Regions from separate parts of the Homo sapiens genome. Here regions 1, 2 and 4 are each linked to region 3. Evidence: promoter capture Hi-C in 16 types of primary human blood cells and fetal thymus (Javierre and others, 2016). All regions are on one chromosome and are shown on one strand. The core of a region is centred on a gene start or on the middle of the fragment in contact, and the rest is flanking DNA. Distances in the headings are between cores, read along the strand shown. Region 1 has its middle 43 kb from the start of LINC02119. Region 2 overlaps LINC02107 (long intergenic non-protein coding RNA 2107). Region 3 holds the start of GDNF-AS1 (GDNF antisense RNA 1). Region 4 overlaps WDR70 (WD repeat domain 70).

What was found. The method cuts DNA at HindIII sites, captures the fragments that hold promoters and counts their contacts. A CHiCAGO score of 5 or more calls a contact.
Region 1: a contact is called between a fragment that was not itself captured here and the fragment with the promoter of GDNF-AS1 in region 3, in 8 of 17 cell types (M0 macrophages, M1 macrophages, M2 macrophages and 5 more). The highest score is 35.3, in M0 macrophages.
Region 2: a contact is called between a fragment that was not itself captured here and the fragment with the promoter of GDNF-AS1 in region 3, in 1 of 17 cell types (M0 macrophages). The highest score is 5.9, in M0 macrophages.
Region 4: a fragment that was not itself captured here is called in contact with the fragment with the promoter of GDNF-AS1 in region 3 in 1 of 17 cell types (megakaryocytes); the score reaches 6.2 in megakaryocytes.

What each region holds. Positions count from the first base shown.
Region 1 is chr5:38,189,512-38,194,354 of GRCh38, reverse strand. No RefSeq gene overlaps it. Among named protein-coding and RNA genes, the nearest start is that of LINC02119, 43 kb to the right of the region's middle. The HindIII fragment of the contact is 1,904 bases long and covers 2,639-4,542 here.
Region 2 is chr5:38,160,413-38,165,837 of GRCh38, reverse strand. The region is part of intron 2 of LINC02107 (long intergenic non-protein coding RNA 2107); the gene reads right to left. Among named protein-coding and RNA genes, the nearest start is that of LINC02119, 15 kb to the right of the region's middle. The HindIII fragment of the contact is 479 bases long and covers 3,233-3,711 here.
Region 3 is chr5:37,836,948-37,842,306 of GRCh38, reverse strand. It overlaps GDNF-AS1 (GDNF antisense RNA 1), which reads right to left and starts at 2,423. Exons shown (of 4, transcript NR_145476.1): 1 at 2,269-2,423. GDNF (glial cell derived neurotrophic factor) reads left to right here and starts at 2,266. Exons shown (of 3, transcript NM_000514.4): 1 at 2,266-2,800. RefSeq lists enhancers at 2,405-3,342, 4,800-4,869, 5,221-5,359. The HindIII fragment of the contact is 7,909 bases long and covers 556-5,359 here.
Region 4 is chr5:37,487,468-37,492,497 of GRCh38, reverse strand. All of the region lies in intron 8 of WDR70 (WD repeat domain 70), which reads right to left. Among named protein-coding and RNA genes, the nearest start is that of WDR70, 110 kb to the right of the region's middle. The HindIII fragment of the contact is 255 bases long and covers 1,184-1,438 here.

The DNA of each region.
Region 1 (4,843 bases), core at 2,341-4,840, 350 kb before region 3:
CTGCCACCAGGTAAGACGTGCCTTGCTTCCCCTTCACCTCCAGCCATGATTGTAAATTTCCTCTCTCTGTCTCCCTCTCCTGCCGCCAAGTAAGATGTGACTTGCTTCCCCTTCACCTCCTGCCATGATTGTAAGTTTCCTGAGGCCTTCCCAACCATGTGGAACTCTGAGTCAATTAAACCTCTTTCCTTTATAAATTACCCAATCTCAGGTGTTCTTTATAGCAGTGTGAGAACTAATACTTGGCTTCAGCTGGTTAATCCCCAGGGACAGTTTTCAGGATTAGATTTTCGTGGCAGTGTTTCCTCTCCCTTCTACTCCCCTCCCCATAAAGATTTAGTGGGCAGGACTGACTTGTCTGAAGGGGTCCTCTTGGCTGGGGGCCTTCGAAGAAGCCAGATTGTCCCCTTAAGAGTAGTCACTACTATAAGCCCAAAAATCTTGGGTCCCTGTAATGTGCTATGTGCTATGTCTCCGGCTGACTTGCACTGCAGCCTAGTCAGAGATGGCCACCTTTGTCTTTCTACAGCAAATCAGAAAGGGACACAAAATTTCTATTTGAACATAGATAATTCAAAACAGCTGAACTTTTTTAAATGAAGAATCTTTTTGCATGCAACGTTCGATAGTGGAAGAATACCCTGATTAACTTAGGAAACTATTTTACCCTAACTTAGTTATGAACGACCAAAAATGTGCCTTTACATCTGTTTAGGATGACATTTTGGGCATCTAGTACTACATTACAATCTCCATGAGACAATAAACACATAGACTTGTTATTTGATAGTTGCATAATTGTGGTTTTCTTCTGCTTGTTCTCAGAGGTGGAGAGCTGCCTGTTTGCTTTTTATTCCTCTTTTTTTTTTTTCCAGGAGAAAAAAACAAATGTAAAACACACCAAACCAGAGGGAAAGAAATAGTCAATATGCCGCTGCTGCATGTAAGCTGCAAGTTTATTTGCCTGTTTACTCTCTTTGAAATACCTGTGAAGTGCTTTGCCGGCGGGTTCTCGTCCACATCCTCTGAGTGGCAATGCTCATTCACGACCAGCAGAGGGCAGGCACGACCTCCTAATACACCGGGAAGGCCATTTTGCCAGCACCAGGAATAAAGGCGCCCTTGCCATCTGTAACCTCAACCATCTCTCTCAACCACTGTAGACCTAATTGCCATGATAAAAACAGATCTGTATGAGCTTTGTAGTCACACGGTCTTGGTTAAATCGCAGCTCTGCCACGTATTAGCTGTGTGACCTTCAACAACCTACATAACCTCTCTGAGCGCGTTTCTTCCTCATTTCTAAAGTGGGACTATTAATAATACCTACTTCATAGGCTTCTTGTGAACATTTAATCAGTTAATATATGCAAGGCACTCAGAACAGAGCCTAGCACATGGTAACCTATTATATTTATTGTTATTACTAATAGTATTGCATTAAACTCTTTCATTCTCTCTCTCAGGACTCCAACTAAAGTGTCCAAGGAGAAGGGACACCACTCAAGAGGAAGGAAGAAAAAGGCTTTGGTGAGTCTCAGGCCACCCCAGGAATCTCTGGGTGATGGAGAAGGGAGCTACAGAGATGTCTCTGCTCCAGCAGAAGAACAGAAAGATGGTTCTAACCTGGGGTGAGAGACACCAAATGAGCTAAGCTTTCCTGTTTCATTCTTTCCCTAAAGGCAGTAAGACCTGAGCTTGGGCGGTGGGAAGGTCCGCAGACATCTGGTACAAGAAGGGCTCCAGGCAAGCAAAGAGCTGTTCCTCCCAGCTGCATTCAAGCATGGTGCAATTAGCTGCAGCCTGGGGGATCGTCACGAACCTGGCCACCTGGGCACCTCTCCTCAACATCTGGGTGAAGGACAAAGGGAAGGCACAAGCTCCGAAAAAGAGGCCTTGGAGGTTATTTTACAACAAGAGTGGCAGAGGCCAGGGAAGCATGTGGGTGTTCTAGCTGCTTTTAGCAAAGCCATTCATGTGGTAGCTAGAAGTGATGAGGCCCTGGCCGTGTGGTGGGCAGGCAGGGGCAGGGATCCATGGCAGAAAGAAGAGGGTACACTTTCCTGGAGATGTTTCCAAAACCCCTGGGTAGGGATCTTGAGGTGAGCTCTGGTAAGCGTCTTGAGGACAAGGACCACATCTTATCCAGCCTTGTAGAGTAGCAACTGTTCGGGTCATAGGCTGTGAATAAATATTCCAACTCTATCTCCTTCTGACACATGATAGGATGGCACTTCCCTGCTCACTGGAAGTCGATGTGGCCATGTGACTTTCTGTGGCTAATGAAAGGTAAGCAGAAGCTTTCAGAGCCAATGCAGACTCTACCATATTTTTTTCCTGAGCAGGCAGCTAAGGGCTCCTCCAGGAGCCTGTGTCCCTGTGTGACTCTGATGAGCAGAGTGCCCCCTAGGCTGACTTGTGGCTGACATGCAGCCATTGAAATGTCAGGTTACTGTTTGTTTGTTACAGCAGCAGACCCCAGCCTGTCCTGATTTAGACAGCAGCTCACCTTTGTGTAGCCCTCTGTCACATCCAGCATGGCTTTTTCACACTGCATCACCTCATCTGATCCTCTGGAAAGCATGTGAGGTAGGTCTGTTATCCCAATTTACCAGCTGAAACTGGATCCCTGAAAGCTTAAGTATCCAAGGTTCCAGAACAAAGTGACAGAGCTGGGAATCCAACCCAAGCCCCAGGACGCCAAATCCCATGCTGTTCCTCCCCCACCATCCTCCCTAGTGTGATGACACTCAACAAATGGGTACCGACTGAAATTGAAATGATAATACTGGCCCGCACAGCTGCAATCATCATCATCATAGCACTTTCACGAGGGCAATGCTTTTTCTTGGTGTCATGAACACATAATGTAGGATCGCCAGTTTTATAAAGAGCAAAGGTTAGTAAGAAGTGATGTCTACAGTGTCTTACATGAAAGTTAGACATCAGACATTGCCTAGGGAAGGCTCTTACTGGGACGAATGATCTAACATTTATTGTAGTGTTTTGTTTTTTTTTTTTTTTTTTTAGACAGGGTCTTGCTCTGTCACCAAGGCTGGAATGCAATGGCACAATCTCGGCTCACTGTGACCTGTGCCTCCCAGGTTCAAGCTATTCTCCTGCCTCAGCCTCCTGAGTAGCTGGGATCACAGGTGCATGCCACCACGCCCAGCTAATTTTTGTATTTTTAGTAGAGACAGGGTTTTGCCATGTTGGTCAGGCTGGCCTTGAACTCCTGGCCTCAAGTGATCTGCCTGCCTCAGCCTCCCAAAGTGCTAGGATTACAGGTGTGAGCCACTGCGCCAGGCCTATTGTAGTACTTTGAAAATCAGCTTCTGTAATTAACATTCTCCATGGCTCTGGCACTCTCCTCACACCACTCTGCTCCCCACAAAGTCCCTAACCACAGTTCCCCTGACTCTGAGCTCCTGCATTCTTTCTATCTAAACTCTCCGTCAGTCATAGTTACCTGTTCTAGGGCCTCAATCACTCAGGGCCCATTTTTTTTTTCTCCTGGGAAACCAGCAACCTACTCCAGCTAACTCATGCAAAGGCTGATGGTATGTTATTGCTGCGACTTGTCACACTTGTGTTTTAGCCTGGCTCTCTAGTCCAGCAGTGGGATTTCAGAGCAGCTCACAGGCTGCTAGGGGAGCTATCTCAGCACCGGCCGACTTTTGATTACACCTCAAATCACATCCTGTTGTTGGCAGCCAATTCTACTTAGCCTAAGACCGCTTTCTGCATCCATCCATCCTTCACTGCTGACTTTAAAGGGATCAAAAGAGCCCTGTGTATTTTTCTAATCTCCCTAATCCTCGTAACTATTCCTGTGAGGATGCAGGTATCATCACTACCATTTTTCAGATGAAACGAAGGCCCAGAAAGTTTTAGTGACAGACCCAAGGTCACCCCTGTGAGCCGGTGGCAGAGATGGGAATGGAACTCAGACCGGCTGGTCTCCCAGGCCATCAGTCTCCATTAGACCCTGCTGTCTCGCTGAATTCCCCCTGCAGTTTTAATTGAATATCATGTTCTTCTTCACTTCCTGCCCTAAACAGGGCAACAGCTGCCGCTCACCCTCCTGAGCCGGCTGGCGGTACTTCAGTGGTGGGTGAAGTTATGCTGGGGTGGAAAGCGGGTGAAGCGTTTCAGGATAAAAGGACCCATCAGATTGGAAGATATTCACGACGGTATAAAAGGGATGCCCTGACTTTCAAATGACATCGTGTTGGGGACCAGGCTAAGAGGGAAACTGCTTGGGAGGGTGAGTATGGGAGTTGGAAGGATGGGACACTGTGGAGGAGAAAAAAAGATGCGTGTGTAATTGGATGGAAACTTTCGGCAAAAAAATAAATAAAACCATGGAGCACTGTTATTGGTGAGAGGCCCAATATGCGACATGGCTGAACTGTCCTGGGTTCATGTTCTTTTCTTGAGAACAATGCTTAGGGTTTCAAGGGGATTAAAAGCAAGAGGACTAAGATTCGCTTTGCCCCATTCCATCTGCTGCACAGTTTCTACAGCAGCAGTTCTAAAGCTTTCGGGTGCAGCAGAAGGACCTGGGACACTCGGTAAAAGTATTGGTTTCTAGCCCTCTCCTGAGAGACTGTGGCTCAAGAGAGTTTGTAATTGTCTTGTAGGGCACACTTAGGGGAAGGCAATCAACGGTCATCCAGCTTCAAGAACTTGTGCCCCTGCCTCTCATATACATTTTGGAAAGGTCTTTTCCTTTGGGAATCAGAGGAGGAGGTCTGCAGGGGAGTGGCTTGTGTCTACAGCTGCTAAAAACAAACAAACAAAAAAAACCAATAACTCTACTCCGCAAATGTGAGGTTTGGGT
Region 2 (5,425 bases), core at 2,223-4,722, 320 kb before region 3:
TTGGTAGTATGAGCTACGGAAGGGCGGCACAGATTAGAGAGCTATGTCTGTAACTGACGAAATCTGCGCCTGGAGTGCATTTGTGGGGAAATTAAAAATAAAATGAAGCTCATCTGAAAAATGCGTGGACTGGAATTAGCCGTCTCCTGACCAGTCACGCATGGAACTTGTCGGAGATGACCAGGACAGAAAAGTGAGACCTGGGCAGCACACTGGGCTGCGCCGGCCGCCAGGATCTGGGGAACCTGTCATAATTTATAATGGATTATCTTAGGAAATAGATGAGGACAGCTTGTGTTCAGGAGCCAGGAAAGACTACTTTAGTTTAAAAAAAGGGGCGGTGCAGAAAACATGTCTCAAAAATGCATGACCCATTGTTGTTTGTTCTGCAAGATATTTAGTGTCTGGACTTGGATTGAATTAACTCATCAAATCCTCTGCTATGAACATGACATTTGGTGGCAACTAACATCGCCACACCAAGTAAATGGCACCCCTTGCCTGTGCTGGTGTTGAGACTCATGTTTGCAGCCCTCATTATAAGGTACATATCCAAATGTATTGGAATTTTTATAGTTAACACTTTGAGTTTCAAAGACTGGGGCTTACACACACACACACACACACACGCACACACATTGGACAGTATCTTCCCACTTTCCCACTATGACTTCTCTTTGATTTTCTTCCAGCATTGCCCTTGATGCCCACTTTGATTTCATCAGATGTCACTGTTCTGGACTAACTACTTTTGATTGCATATAAAGGAGAAAGGGAAGTAGCATTTGTTGACTCTTCTCTGGTCGATGTGATAGTGTGTTACATAAGTATGTTGTTAACCTTCACAAAGACACTTTGTGATACTGTCATTCTGCTGATTTTACTGATGAGGCAACTGGGACGTGGAGAGATTACAGAACTTGCCAAGGTCTACCATTCAGTAATTGGCCTAGTCAGGCTTTGAACCAAGACCACTGGGGCTTCAAGCCTGCTCTGTACACACAGTCAAGGTGAAGCCAGAATCCTACTGTAACTGGGCAGGATCTGTAATATCATAAGAATTTGGATCCAGCAGCAGGCTTTATTTCAATACTTAACTCACCCAACCTAGTCCTCAAATCCAAGCTTCTTTTCCTGAAACAATTACAAAAAAAAATTTCTGTACTTCAAACTTTGAAACATAATAACAATTAAACAACTTAGTTTCCGTTGTCAGTCTGGTTTCTCTGCCTTAGTGGAAAGTCTAATGGGATATTTTACAAGGATGACAAAGACAGATAATGAAAGTCAAAGCAGTACATAAAGCTTCCTTGAAAGCTTGGTAATTAAAGGCTTTGCATTGTTCTTTAATAACAGTCGTCACCTTTTTACTGCATTGGGATAAAGGCACAAAGTCTGAAATATATTTGCATTTCAGCCACACTCTGAGTGAACGCAACCTCTAGCTTTTCATTCAGAGGAACTGCATTTCAACTTCTGCAGAAAGAAAGACCAAGAGGTAGCTGTTTCTTCCAAAATGCTGGCAGTACGCAAACATTTAGTACACTGGAGATTAGATGCTAATCTGTGAATTCATACCTGTGTTTTAGGGGAGGCTTTAGACTTATAAGAAAGGGCAGACGAAGCCTCGATGTAAAATATAGCCATGGCCTTCCTACCTGAAATGCCTATATCCCACGACCATGGTCCTGGAGCATGTGTGTGTTAATGTGACTCACTGGGGAAAAGTTCAATGTGTTCCTCAACAATGCCTGGTCTATGGAGTAGAGGAAGTAGGAGGCCATGTGCTGTTGAGAAATTTCTGAAACAACATGTCCCAAAGAACTTTTACCCCTGCCTGATGCATGAATTCTGCCATTGAGGTGAGAGGAAAAGGGGGCAAACATTTAACAGGCACTTACTATGTGCCAGGCACTGTGTTAGGCACAGTCTCAAATCTTTTTAATCCTCATCACAACCCTCTGAAGTATTATTCTCTTTTTAGAGATGAGGAAATTGAAGCTAAGACAGGTTAGGTTACTTGCCAAGCATTACATAACCAGAAGGCAGCCTGAGATTTAAATTCACATGTATCGGACTCCCAAATTGAACTCTTTGTCCCCTGTTAAAATGTGCCTGTCCCTGGGAAAGGTGGCACATGAAATCCTATCAGTCATTCACACTGTAGTGTAATGAATTTATCCTATCCTTTCTGAGAAAGTTTCGGTTAAGAAGGCTAAAGGTCTAGATTCCACAAAGGGGAAGAAAATACAGAAGGGAGAGGGTAATGATGATGAAAACATGTATCAGTCACTTCCCAGTTTTGCCTAGCCCTAAATACCTATGGCTGACTTGATAGACGAGGCAAAAGGGGGAAAGGAAGATGTGAAGAACAAAGTCTTTCTTTCACTCTTGTTTTTGAAAAGATAGTTAAGAATAGAGATAGTGCTGTGTTCTAAGAGTGACAACGCTGAGAAGGAACAAAGGGAATTACATGTAATTTAGCTCAGCTGGCCAGGCACGATGGCTCACGCCTGTAATCTCAGCACTTTGGGAAGCCGAGGTAGGCAGATCATGAGGTCAGGAGTTCGAGACCAGCATGGCCAATATGGTGAAACCTTGTCTCTACTAAAAATACAAAAATTAGCCGGGCGTGGTGCTGTGGGCCTGTAATCCCAGCTACTCAGGAGGCTGAGGCAGAAGAATCGCTTGAACCCGGGAGGCAGAGGTTGCAGTGAGCTGAGATTGCACCATTGCACTCCAGCCTGGGCAACAGAGTGAGACTGTCTCAAACAATAATAATAATAATAATAATAATAATAATAATAATAATAATAATAATTTAGCTTAGCCTAATTCAGGATATAAGACCAGCTGATCTAAGTTGGGTTACAGCATAGACATGGGTCTGCAGAGCCTATGGGCTGAGCAGGTCTGAGACTGAATTATGATTTCTCTTGGCCTCTTTCTCAAACTAATCTGCTCAACACCACAGGCTTGGCCTCTGGGATGCAGTGTCATGAGTAAGAGCTGATGACTGGCACTGGCCGTCTCACTTTCTAGCTATGTGACCTCCAGCTGCTGCTGACCGTCCCTGAGACTTCATTTGTAAAACGAAACTCAGAAAGCTTGCCTCACAAGATCACTGTGAGAATTCAGTAGGGTAACGTTCAGGTAGCACTTAGTGAATGGTAACTAATGATACCATATAATCTACAGGCAGGATACATGGGGAATTTTGATCCAGAAAGCTTTGGGGCCAAGTTGACTTTAGCAATCGACAGAGCTTTCACCTGCTACATGGCGTGAACTTGAGGGATGGTGGGAAGGACGTTCAGCTCCAGAGTATCTCCTTTATCTAAAAGCCATAATATCTGAAATTCCACATTCAGGATATATTCCTTTAGCAACTGTCCCAAACATCCTTTTATTAATTCCTTTGATGGGAAGCACATTACGTCAGTAGCTACTAATCCAAGCTGCCCATTGGAATTGTCTTGCGGGTTGGGAGGTAGGGGAAGGTTAAAGAATGCTGATACCCAGCCCTCACCCCAGACCCAAAAAATTAGAACCTCTGGGAGGAGCCCAGGCATTAACAAAAAACAAAAACAAAAACTTTGCCAAGTGTTTCTACCATGTAGCCAGGGCTGAGAACCCCTGTGTTACAGTATTTAATTCTACTAGAATGGAAGCACCAGGAGGCCAAGAAATACAGCATGGCATTCCCAAGCTTCCCACTGTCACTTGGCACAAAAAATAGTTAACTTACGAATTCATCGTTGGTGTTGTTGAATGAAAACAAAGGTGTTAGTGACTCTAAATTCCACCTTAGTGAGAGCCAGAGATGAGATTAAAGACAAGGGACTGGAAGGCACAGAGAGGGAAGTAAGCTCTAGGTCATTACAGAAGAGCAAGTCTCCCTTCTTAGAAAATTCAGCTGCTTGTTACTCTCATGATGATGCTAACAGGAAAGGGCAGATCTCTTGGAAGAAGGGAAGATGCTACACCAGGACTGAAAAAAAGACGCGCCTTTTCGAGTTTCTAGAAGAAACTGAATACAAAGAGAGAAAATTTCCCATTAAGTATTTCAAAAAAATCCATCCGGCAGTTGGAAGAAACAGAAAACAACATGCCCTGAAATCAGAGAGCTCAACCTCCAAATCTCACACCTGCCATTATTAACTACACGACCTCACAGAAGGAGGGAGCTTTTTTCCTGTTTGTTTTTGCTTTGAGACAGAGTCTTGCTCTGTTGCCCAGGCTGGAGTGCAGTGGCGCAATCTCGGCTCAATGAAACCTCTGCCTCCCTGGTTCACGCCATTCTCCTGCCTCAGCCTCCCAAGTAGCTGGGACTACAGGTACATGCCACCATGCCCAGCTTATTTTTGTGTTTTTAGTAGAGACGGGGTTTCACCATGTTGACCAATGGTCTCCATCTCTTGACCTCGTGATCCGCCCGTCTCAGCCTCCCAAAGTGTTGGGATTACAGGCGCGAGCCACTGTGCCCGGCCCCCTGTATTTTTTAAAGCATTTCTGATTCTCAGAGTCTATAAAAGGGGGAGTAATATTGATGATCTCCTAGGGGTGTTGAAGAACACTTGAGAATTGGCTGGCACATATCAGGCGATTGGGGTCTATTAATTCTCTCCTTCTGTCCTCCCTCCTTCCCTCCCTTTCCACCTGACAAACAAAGTTATCAGTTATTCTAGGGATAAATAACTTTTCAAAACTGAGATATCAGACTAGTGATCCCCATATTTCCAAATGCTAATTGTTGTGGGAATTTTAGGGAGAGGTGAAGTGAGCACGTGAATCTTCAAAATAGCAAAAAGGACAGGATTACACAAGAAAGATCAGCTCCGCTAAAAATCAGCCCCATAAGATTGATGGCTGAACCCTGAAATCAACTGTGTGGAAACTGTGCTGACTTTACAGGGAGATTTTCTTCTTTTTCTGAAGTCACAAAGAATGTAAATACTGTTACAATTATCTCTTATTTTAAAATAAGTTCATTAGAAATCAACTATGAAACCGTTTTGTCATGGTAACATTTTAATTGAAAATTTTAATTACTTTCCTAATATCCTCATGGTAAACTTTCTATACATGTAAGTTTTCATCTTGTTTTGGGTTATTGTGGAAACTTTATATTTTTCTAGAATTCTATCTCAATTTCTCTGCAGACTTTTTAGCTGTACCTGTTTGCATTATTATAGTTTTAAATGGTTTCTCCATGGACTAAGATGCATATTATTACTATTTCATGAGGTCAGGAGTTCGAGACCAGCATGGCCAATATGGTGAAACCTTGTCTCTACTAAAAATACAAAAATTATCTGGGCATGGTGGTGCGTGCCTGTAATCCCAGCTACTCAGGAGGCTGAGGCAGGAGAATTGTTTGAACCCAGAGGCGGAGGTTGCAGTGAGCTGAGATCACGCCATTGCA
Region 3 (5,359 bases), core at 1,174-3,673:
GAGCAGTTGGTAGCAGGAGCAGAAGCCAAAGGACACCCAGGGGAAAACAGCGAGAGAGGAGCTGAATCACCTTGGCGGCTAAGCCGTTAGTGGGGATCGGCAGATGCCTGCTGCTGAGGGGGCAGCGAGATAACCCAGTCACAGAGCTGTATCCTGAATGACCTTCCAGTTCCTGAACTTCAATCCAGTTTTCATGAGGCCTGGCTGGGTGGCCTTTCCGGAAGGCTTTTCGGAGACACGTGGCGGAATGGTGGAGATTCCGGTCAGCCTTCCTTCCACAGTAAATTCCCATTACTGAGGGTAAACCTCAGTGGTATCTGTTCCTTGCAACCCCCGCCCCCCGCCCAAAAAAAAAGCCCAATCAGCACAATGCCCAGGGCCTAGCACTTTGCCTGGCACACAGCAAGTGCTAGATATTTGCAGGTGCTTGGACGGGCTGATCATCCCCAGCAAAAAGCCCTCTAAAAATAAAGAAATCATTCAGAGTAAGAACATTGATGAGGGTCGTCTTCAAATTCCAAAAACAATGCTAAACGGCAATAAATATATTAAGCTTATTCTGCCCTCTAATTTCTGAATCTAACTACATTTCTACCATAAATCTATCAAAGAGGGAAATGTCATTTTCTGCAGAACTCCAGAGAGCATCCTAATTTCAGCTAAGGTATGTTTTGATGACTCGATTTTCACTTCGCTTAATCTTAAATCACAGCAACGTTAGTAAGAACAATTTTCCTCCCACACTCGCTTCACTGACAAACCTGCAAAGTAGCTGATCTTTGACTTTTAAGAAGTTTAATAATACATGATCTTCCCCCCACACTGCCACACGCATTTCCCCTGCCTATTGTCTGTATCAGCTACTTGAAGAACACATACTCCCCAACAACCGGATGAGTCATAAAATAAGAGGTACATGGACGTAAACTGAGCCTGTTTACACTTTCCCTGGCCCCAGCTAATAAAATAAAAGAGGTCCCACTGAATTCAGGTCCAATGGCTTCCGGAAAACAGGTTTCTGCTTAGCAAAGACATGCCCTATTTAGTACATTATTTTAGAGGTACAGCCAATTCCATGCCCCATGTGAATGAAATGTATTTATGGTTATAGCCATGCACAGGGTGTGTAAGGACTTGCCCTCCTCCTGTCCTCTACAAAAGAAGGCTCAGGCAGCTTCTGGTGGTGAACTAACCAACAAAAGGAATGCCCAGAAGGTCTCACCTCTCCCATCCACAGAGCTCTGGAATGGGGGCCGGGCCCCTGATCGCTGGAAACTCAGCATCCAAGTGGGCGCTTGCTGAAGTTTCCCATCTGCATTTTCGAAAATCTGGATAAAAGCAGGTTTAGCTCAACCTCCCCTAACCCGTTCCTGATAAAGTGATCTTACGCCTCTGGAATTGGGATTTTGAATGTATGTGCCTGCCCCATGTCTGGTATTAGATTACAACAGCATGAAAATGGAGCCTAGGACTGAGGAGCCGGCCAGCCTCAGAAGCCTTCTTCATTGCCTGCCATGTAATACATGATATGCAAAGCCTCTGACTTCAGCCAGCAGATATTTGGAGACCGTGTTGGCCTTAGCATGGGGACTAAACTAATGTGTGTTTAGGTCAGAAAGCGAATCAGAAAAGCCACTGGAGGGCACGTCACGGAGTGAGAGCCCTATAAATTCATCCCCACTCGCAGCGTCCCCTGGCAAATACTCGGCTTCCCTCACCCGGCCGCTCCGCACCTCTCCTTCTCGGTGCTAGAACTCCGGCCGGCAGCTCCTTTTCTCGCCACTGCCTCCTGCCCTGCGGAGAAGCGAGAGGGCGAGACACCCGAGCGGGAAGGCCGGCCTTCGACAGGCGCGAGGAAAGCCCGGCGCTGCCCTGCACCGGCAGAGCGCCACCCTCCCAGTGCGGCGCGCGGGGGCAAAGCCCGGCGCGGGCGCCGCGGTCAAGTTCGGATTGCCCCTTTCGGCTGGCCCGCGCAGAGCGCCGCACATTCCTCTCGATTTTTGATCCACCCGGAGAGGAGAAGGCGCTAGCCCCGCGGCGTCTCCGCGCTCTCAGCGCTCTCCCTGCAGCCCAGGGAGGGGCGCCTCGCGTCGCCCACTCGCACCCCGGCCCCCCGCCTCGGGAACTCCAGGGCCTCCTCGCTGCTCTCCTCTCCTCCCCCACCGCCAGGCCCAGCCGACGCCTCCCGACCCCTCCCTCCCGGGGCCCCGCGCCTCCCCTCCCCCACCCCGGACCCCGGACCCCCAGCCCGGGCTCTAGAAGACCAGCCTGCGCTCCTGGCGCCCTCATGTCTTCACGGGACTCCCCGCGCCGGTTGACGTGGTGTCTCGTTCGGATCTCCAGGCAAGACCTCAGCTCCGGCAGCAGCATCAGACAAACCAGTCTCGTGCTCCCAGGCAGTGCGCCCAGAGGAGGCGCAGAGCGCGGCAGCTGCCGCTGAGCCGCCCGCAGCGCCCCGGGCCCGCGCAGCCCCAGCCAAGAGCGCGACGCGCGCAGCCCTGTCAGCCCCCCACCCAAAGCAGCGGCGGCTGCTCGGACCTCGGCTTCTGGGGGTGCGGGGGCCCGGCGGGAGAGTTGCCGGCAGCCCTCGCCCTGTTGGCGGCGGCGGCGGCGGGAGTCTTGGCCGCCGCCTCCAGCGCGCCCTTGCTGCCCCGCGCGACCCCAGGATTGCGAACTCTTGCCCCTGACCTGTTGGGCGGGGCTCCGCGCTCCAGCCATCAGCCCGGATGGGTCTCCTGGCTGGGACTTGGGGCACCTGGAGTTAATGTCCAACCTAGGGTCTGCGGAGACCCGATCCGAGGTAAGTGAGGGAGCGGGCCGGGGAGCAGGGAGCGGGTGGTGCCTGCGTCGCGGGTGGGTGCGGCCGGCTGAAGGGCGCCCTAGTCAGAGGGGTGCGTCTGGACCCCAGAGCAAACGGTGAGAGTAGAAAGTGGAAAGACTAGAGGGAACCTAAGCTATGCGAGGAGAGAGAAAAGTAGAACCGGAGAGAGGCCGGCCTTTCGGAGGGGCATGTTGCCTTTTCCACGTGGGCAAAGATCTGTGGAGCCCCAGATGCGCCTGGACCCGGAATGCCCAAGAGGGGCAGTTTCCTTCCCCGACTCGGCCAGGTGCTCTTCCGTCAAGTCACAGAACGATTCAGGGCTTGGGTCATCTTCGAACCCACCGCCGTCGAAATGTGTCCTCTCTGGACGTGCAGAGATACTATCATTGCCAAGAGTGCAACTTACTATTGAGCTTGTTTTGATCTGTGCCAAGGAAAAGCGCAGGCCGGGGGAGGGGCTGCTGCAAAGGTGCTGAGAACCTAAAAATGGAGGGCTCACCTCCTCCGGGCGAGGTCTGGCAAAGCTACATTCCTCACCCGGTTGCCTGCACGTTCCTAACGCCCTCCACCCCAACTAACCATCCCCGTCGAGGTTAGGAGAGGGGCTTTCTTGCCAGTCCTGGATTCAAATCTCTGTCTCGAACGTATTCTTGAGACTCCACTAGGCCATTGAGGTTATTATTTTAATGACCCCTTTTTCTCCTGTACTCTGTGCCGCCTTCCAAAAACACCCCACCACCACTGCCACTACTTTACACCACCTCGAGGCTAATTCCGCACTGGTGGTTTGTTTCCTGCCCCAACGAAGAAAAACGAACCCTCTTCGGGCTGGAAACGGACTTTCGCGGGTTCCCGCCAGCTTCCTGGGGCCCAGCTAGTTTCGGCTTTGGTAGAATCCGCCGCCAGGACCCATGTGCGCGCCCCCGGGGGGCTTACCCATCCCAGAGCTCGCGACCCTTCTGCTCATAGGCGGGGACAAAGGCAACTCTTCCGGCCCCTGCTGCGGAGATGTTAGAACGCGCTCGACTCTTGCTCAGTGTTTGGAATATATGCTTAGGTATTTCAAGGAAGAGATGTTTCTTCCAACCTCATTCACGCACCCAGTCCCGCAAAGCCGTCAAAGCCGGCCTCGACCAAACTCGTACTGTTTCGCTGCGCCTTCGCTTTGTCAGGGAAGGTGGCGCCTTTTCAACAAGTAACAAGTGTCCGATCTCTGGGAAGTCCGCCGTGTCCCTAGCCCTTTCCCGCTAGCAATTCGGGTGCTCTCGGGCCTGGAACCTGGCCCTTTAAACAGACCGCTTTCCCAGTTTGCCTGCGAGAAGTGTCCCAAATTCTTTTTCCTTCCCTCATCTTGGGCCCCGCAGTTATGGGGGGTTGAGGGGAGAATAAGTCCTCTGTCAGTCAAGGACACGAAGCATAGTTAAGAAAAGCAATAGATCTTCCAGCAATTTCTGTCTCTACCTCCCCCCGCCAAAAAAAAAAAAAAAAAAACCGAGTTTATAGCAAACCCGTCTCCCCGCCCCACCGCCTCCTTTTTCTCTCTCTGAGACCTGGATCTTGAAGGCAAAGCCCAAACAAACCTCCCAGCCTGCCAGGCACAAGAAGGTGCGGGGGCACTGACGGCGGGAGCGCTGCCTCCTGCGAATCTGTCACGGTGACGCGTGGAAGGGGTGAGGGATGGTCTGAAAGCAGGTTGCCAAGAAACCCGCTCAGGTGAAGTGGGGAGAGGAAAACCAGCGAGAATGGAGGGGTGGGAGCCTGAAAAGCAGAGATGCCAGTAAGGACCTCCACAGGTTCCCGGGCTAATGGGATTTCGGGAGGCTCGTAGAGGGAGTGGTGGTTCTCCGGTTTTATAACTAAAATGATAACACAGCCTCCGGGCCGCGTGGGCGCGACACGGCTCAGACGGTTTCTGGTGCCCCCTGCTGCCGGGAACTCAGAAGTGCCTCGCGGCGAGCGGCTGCTTCTGCGAGCACTTCTGTGGCTTTCCTGGGCGTCCTTGCCTCCCCAGGCCTGGGGACCCACAGGTGCCGGCGCCCACGGCCTGCTGCTTTTGCCCTGCCGGGACGTGGTGGTCCCGGACCCAGAAGGGGACCAGCTTGCCAGGCACGAGAAATGGTGCGCGGTCACCTGGCAGAGCAGAGCCCCCGTCACTTGAGGAGCAGAGCTTGGTTCTCGCACGTGGCGGCGCGTAAAGCAGTTTGCACCGCGGGCAAAGGCCCATGGTTGAGGAGAAGCGCGTCGGGCAGATGTAGATGTGTTTTGGGAAAGCGATAGAGAGACAAACTGAGAAGCCGAGGGGTGGAGCCCACACGGACTCTAAGAAAAACGTCCTAGTAGACGCTGTGTGTGCCGAGTCCCCCAACCTCCCCCCTTTTCCCCCGCCCAGCAAATACCGAGAACGAAAGAGCCCCTCGGACTGGAGCCGGTCCCGGCGGCGCTCAGAGGGAAGAATGCGCCCTCCCTGTCCCGGGGGAAGAGGGGAGCTCGATCCGGGCGCTGGCGGCGCTCGGCCGAGGGCGGGAACCGCAGCCGGGA
Region 4 (5,030 bases), core at 62-2,561, 350 kb after region 3:
TCACACAATGTAATCATAGGAGTGACTAGCCCATTATACTTATAGTTCAAAACTACATTCAAGGAGAAGTGCAGGGACTCTTAGGAGCCATCTTAGAATTCACCCTACAACAAGAGCTTTGGGTGTAGCAATTCTGAAACTACTTTCCATGTACTGTAACACTGAACAAATGAGTAAATATAATTATAATGTTAAAAGCCATGTTCTTCACTGTTGGAGAAGTGAATTACGAATATGGAACGGGAAAAGGCTAGAAAGTTGGATTAGAATTAGATGTATCCAAATGAACTCATAATTTTTTACTTATTTTAATTTTTGGATTGGTTTATCTCCCTCCTAGCTTTGTCTTTTGAGGCTAGAAGCAATGACACCCAACAGCAATGAATATAACCAGAGTACCAAATCTTAATTTCTAAATTGACTTCCCTGTTGAATGAAGCCATGGATCACTAGAAAAGTAGGTAGGATCAAATTAGGGAAAGTATAAGATGACCCTGGAACATCTTGTTGTGCCAAAATGTAAGAAAGTACTCCAAAAATGATGGGGACATGTCAAAAGCGCAGAAACCAATGTTAAGAAGTTTCTATTAAAGTTTCTGTAAATATTTAGAAAATGGAAAGAAATAAAATGTACTTCAAATCATTCAATTTTTTAGTTATATCTATTATTAATACCTTAAGTTAACAGTTTTCTTTTGCTCAAGAAAACAAAAATAAACCCAGAACAGTTATTTTAATAAAAATTAAATATTTTAAGTTCTTAAGAGAAAGTATTCACCAGTAAAAAGACATGACTAATATATTTCATCTCCAAATAATAAGTGCCATTTTTTTGGAATAGCTGGGTATCAGAATGACTACACGTACTATTCAAAAATAAATAAAACATCTGAAAACTCTTCTAACTTCCATGACTAAGATCCGCTAATGGAGATATCTCCCACTAAAATGTCCAAGCATTCTGAGGTATCCTGAACCTGCTTTCTCCACCTTAGTCATGTAATTTAAAAATAAATGGCAGAGAATTGCTTTCATGTTGAAAAGAAAAAGAGTTGAAGACAATCCTGGAGAAAGGCACTGAACAATATCAGCTCTAGATGAACTGATAAAAGAAAGCTTATGGGGGACTTCAAGATGGCTAACTAGAAGCACCAGACACTCACCTCCTCTACAAAGAAAAGCTTAATGAGTAGATAATCACACTTCAAATACAGCATCAAAGAGAGAATGTTGGAATTCAGCAGAGAAGTGACAGGCACTGAAGAAAGCAAGGCACAGAGCCCAGCCAGGACCAGCTGGGAGCCCTAAGAGGCTCCTCAGTGTGGGGAAAAGGTGAGTAAAAGATTCCCAGCATCCACATTCTCCCTGTAGATACCTGCAATCCTAGCCATAGCACAGTCCCTTAACCCTGACAAGCTGAGACTGGTATAAACAAGCTTCTAAAGAGGAAGCTCACAATAGGTTCCACGCACACCTGGAAACCCAAGCACCTGCAGCATGGCACGAATTTGAGAGCCCAGACCCCACCAGTCTGTTTTCTTTCTGGGGCCAAACAGTACCTGCATCTCCACATCCCTGGAGGCCCCATGACATCCCCTCATACCCACTGAGAGGGTTGTAGCACATGACACCAGTTGGACCCAGCACAGCAGAAATATCCCCAGCACTCTGGATCACACAGCATCCAGTACACTGAAGAAAGGACAATCCAGAGCCCTGTGGATGCTGCCTCTAGGACAAAGGGAGCCAAAGCCCAGACCCACCTGCCTCAGGTCACTGCCACTGAGAGTAACCTTGCCCACCTACCCCCGGCAACAAAGCCCCAGCACACCCGCACATGCTCTAAGGGCAGGCTCTCCCTGCCTGCTGCTGCAGCCAGGGACCAGAGCCTAAGAATCACCTGCCTGGGGCAGGTACCACAGACAGCAACCCTGCTACCCACAACAGCAGGACTGTGGTACATGTGCCTTGAGGACAGGCTCACCCTAGCCAATGCAGCCAATGCCACAGGGAATAGGGGAAGTGGAGACAAAGCATGTGCTCTCCAGAGACTGAGATGTATCTGCCTGGGATGGCTACCACTGGCATCAATCTCCCTCACCACCACCCCCACCACCTCTGTCATTGAGCCTTCCCCTTAGCAGAGCTGTTCATTTCCACATGCCCTGAGGATAGACTCTCCCTGCCTACTACTGCTGCTGCAACCACCACCCAAGGACACTATCCAGGACATGTTGATCACCCTGCCCTGCCCAACACAGCCTGCATTTGTGCACAACATCAGAGGCCTTAAGGACAAGCTCACAAGGTCTGGCACCAGCAACCCCAGTGCTCTCTATCACACTGCCCAGGGGCCTATGGATTCCCCTGCACCATCAGTCACCTCAGGCACATGCACATAAGGAGACCAAACAGCCCCAGAATGCCTGCCGCACCATAGCACGCCATCTGAAGGCCTAGGAATTGCCCCCGTCCCACCTACCACAGCCTATACCCATTTGGACCATCAGGGGGACCTGATGACAGCCCCAAAATGCCTGACACTGGGGGGAAGGGGGAGGGATAGCATTGGGAGATATACCTAATGCTAGATGACGAGTTAGTGGGTGCAGCGCACCAGCATGGCACATGTATACATATGTAACTAACCTGCACATTGTGCACATGTACCCTAAAACTTAAAGTATAATAATAAAAAAAAAAATGCCTGACACTGTCACCCCCTGAGTGCCCTACCACACCACCCTAGACCTGACAATGTCACCCCAACCAAGTGCCCTACCACACCACCCTACCATATAGCCTAGGATTGCTGTGCCCCACTGGTCACTCCAAGCAGGAGTGTGTACTACCAGATGGCATAATAACAGGCCAGAAAACCTACTGCCAGTGCCTAAGCATGCCATCTAAAGGCCTGGGGGTTCACCCTGCCCAGTCTACCACTGCTTATATCTATCTACACCCCCTAGGGGCTGGAGGACAAGGTTGCTCAGCCTGCCACCACCACCAAACCTGGCACCCAGCTATGTGTACCACCTGGGGGTCTGAAGACCAGGCTGCCCAGTCTGTCACAGCCACCACTAACAACAGTGTGTGCTACCTGGAAGCCCAGGTGTTGCCCTGCCACTATACTGCCATCACCAACACCATGCACAATGCTCAGGGGCCCAACCCACCCACTCAACTCACCACTGCCACTACTGGCACCTCAAAAAGCCACCTGGAGGCTCAAATATCAGCCTGTCTGAACCTACTAACACCAGTGCTCATATACTGTGCGCAAGGGCCCAAGAACAGGGACATTCAGCCCAACATTGCCACCACTGGGGCCAGAAGACTGGCCCACCTGGCATTGCCACACCTAATTAAACCTCACCACAGCCTCCACTAACAAATTCACCTAAGCCTCTGAGGAAAACACAGACACCACTGACAGGGTTTAAAGCCAAAGAAGTCATATGGAGACTACACTACTACACAAATCCAGAATCAATGCTGAAGCGCCCTACCTAACCAACACCATAGATACATCTACAGGAAAAAATATTCCTCTATGAAAGCCAATCCAAAAAACTGGAAGAAGTAACTGTTACAAGAGTTGCACAGATAACAATGTAAGAACACAAGAAACACAAAAAAGCAAGGAAAAGTGACACCTCCAAGGGAACACAATAATTCTCCACCAACAGATTCCAGCGAAAAGAAAATATGAAATGTCTGAAAAAAATTCGAAATCGTAGTCTAAAAGAAGCTCAGTGATATACAAGAGAACACAGATAAACAATACAAAGGAACCAGAAAAACAATTTGGGATATGAATGAGAATTCACCAAAGATAAATAAATTACAAAAACAAAATCTTAGAATAATTCAATAAACGAAATAAAAAATACAACTGAAAGCTTCAACAAGAGACTAGATCAAGCACAAGAAAGAATTTCAGAACTTGAAGACAGGTCTTTCCAAACAGTCCAGTTAGACAAAAAAAAAAAAAAGTAAAGAACAAAAAAGAATAAAGAAAGCCTACATAATGTATGGGACACCATAAAGCAACCAAATATCTGAATTGTGGGTGTTCCAGGAGGTGAAGAGATCAATGGCATAGAAAACCTATTTAATAAAATAATCGTTGAAAACTTTTCAAGTCTAACAGGAGACTTAGACATACAGATACAAGAAGATAGCAGATTCCCATATAGATACAACCCAAAAAGGTCTTTTTAGTGGCACATTATAGTCAGATTGTCAAAAGTCAAAGACAAAGAGGAAATTCTAATAACAGCAAAAAAAAAAAAGTCTAGTCACATATAAGACCACACCCATCAGACTTAACAGTGGATTCCTCAGCACAAACCTTATAGGCCAGAAGAGAATGAAATGATATTGTCAAAGTGCTGAAAGGAAAAAAAAAAAAAAAAAAGCCACCCAAGACTAGTACACTCAGCAGTTATAATGAAGGAGAAATAAAGTCTTTCTCAGGCAAACAAAAGCAGGAAATTCATCACCACTAGGCCAGGCCTACAAGAAATGTTTAAAGGAGTCCTATACCTGGAGGCAAAAGAGTAACAACTATGGGCTGGATGCGGTGGCTCATGCCTGTAATCCCAGCACTTTGGGAGGCCTAGGCAGGCAGATCACGAGGTCAGGAGCTCAAGACCAGACTGGCCAACATGGTGAAATCCCGACTCTACTAAAAATACAAAAATTAGCCGGGTGTGGTGGTACGTACCTGTAGTCCCAGCTACTCGGGAGGCTGAGGCAGGGGAATCACTTGTACCCGGGAGGAGGAGATTGCAGTGAGCTGAGATCGCACCACTGCACTCTAGCCTGGTGACAGAACCAGACACCCTCTCAAAAAAAAAAAAAAAAATACATATATATATATATATATATATATTTATATATACATACCCATATATAAAATGATATAAAGAATATAGATACAAATTTAATAATATAACAACTTAATATAATTAGGAGGGCCTGCTTACATATGAAGTATATAATATTTTATCATGATAGATTAGATA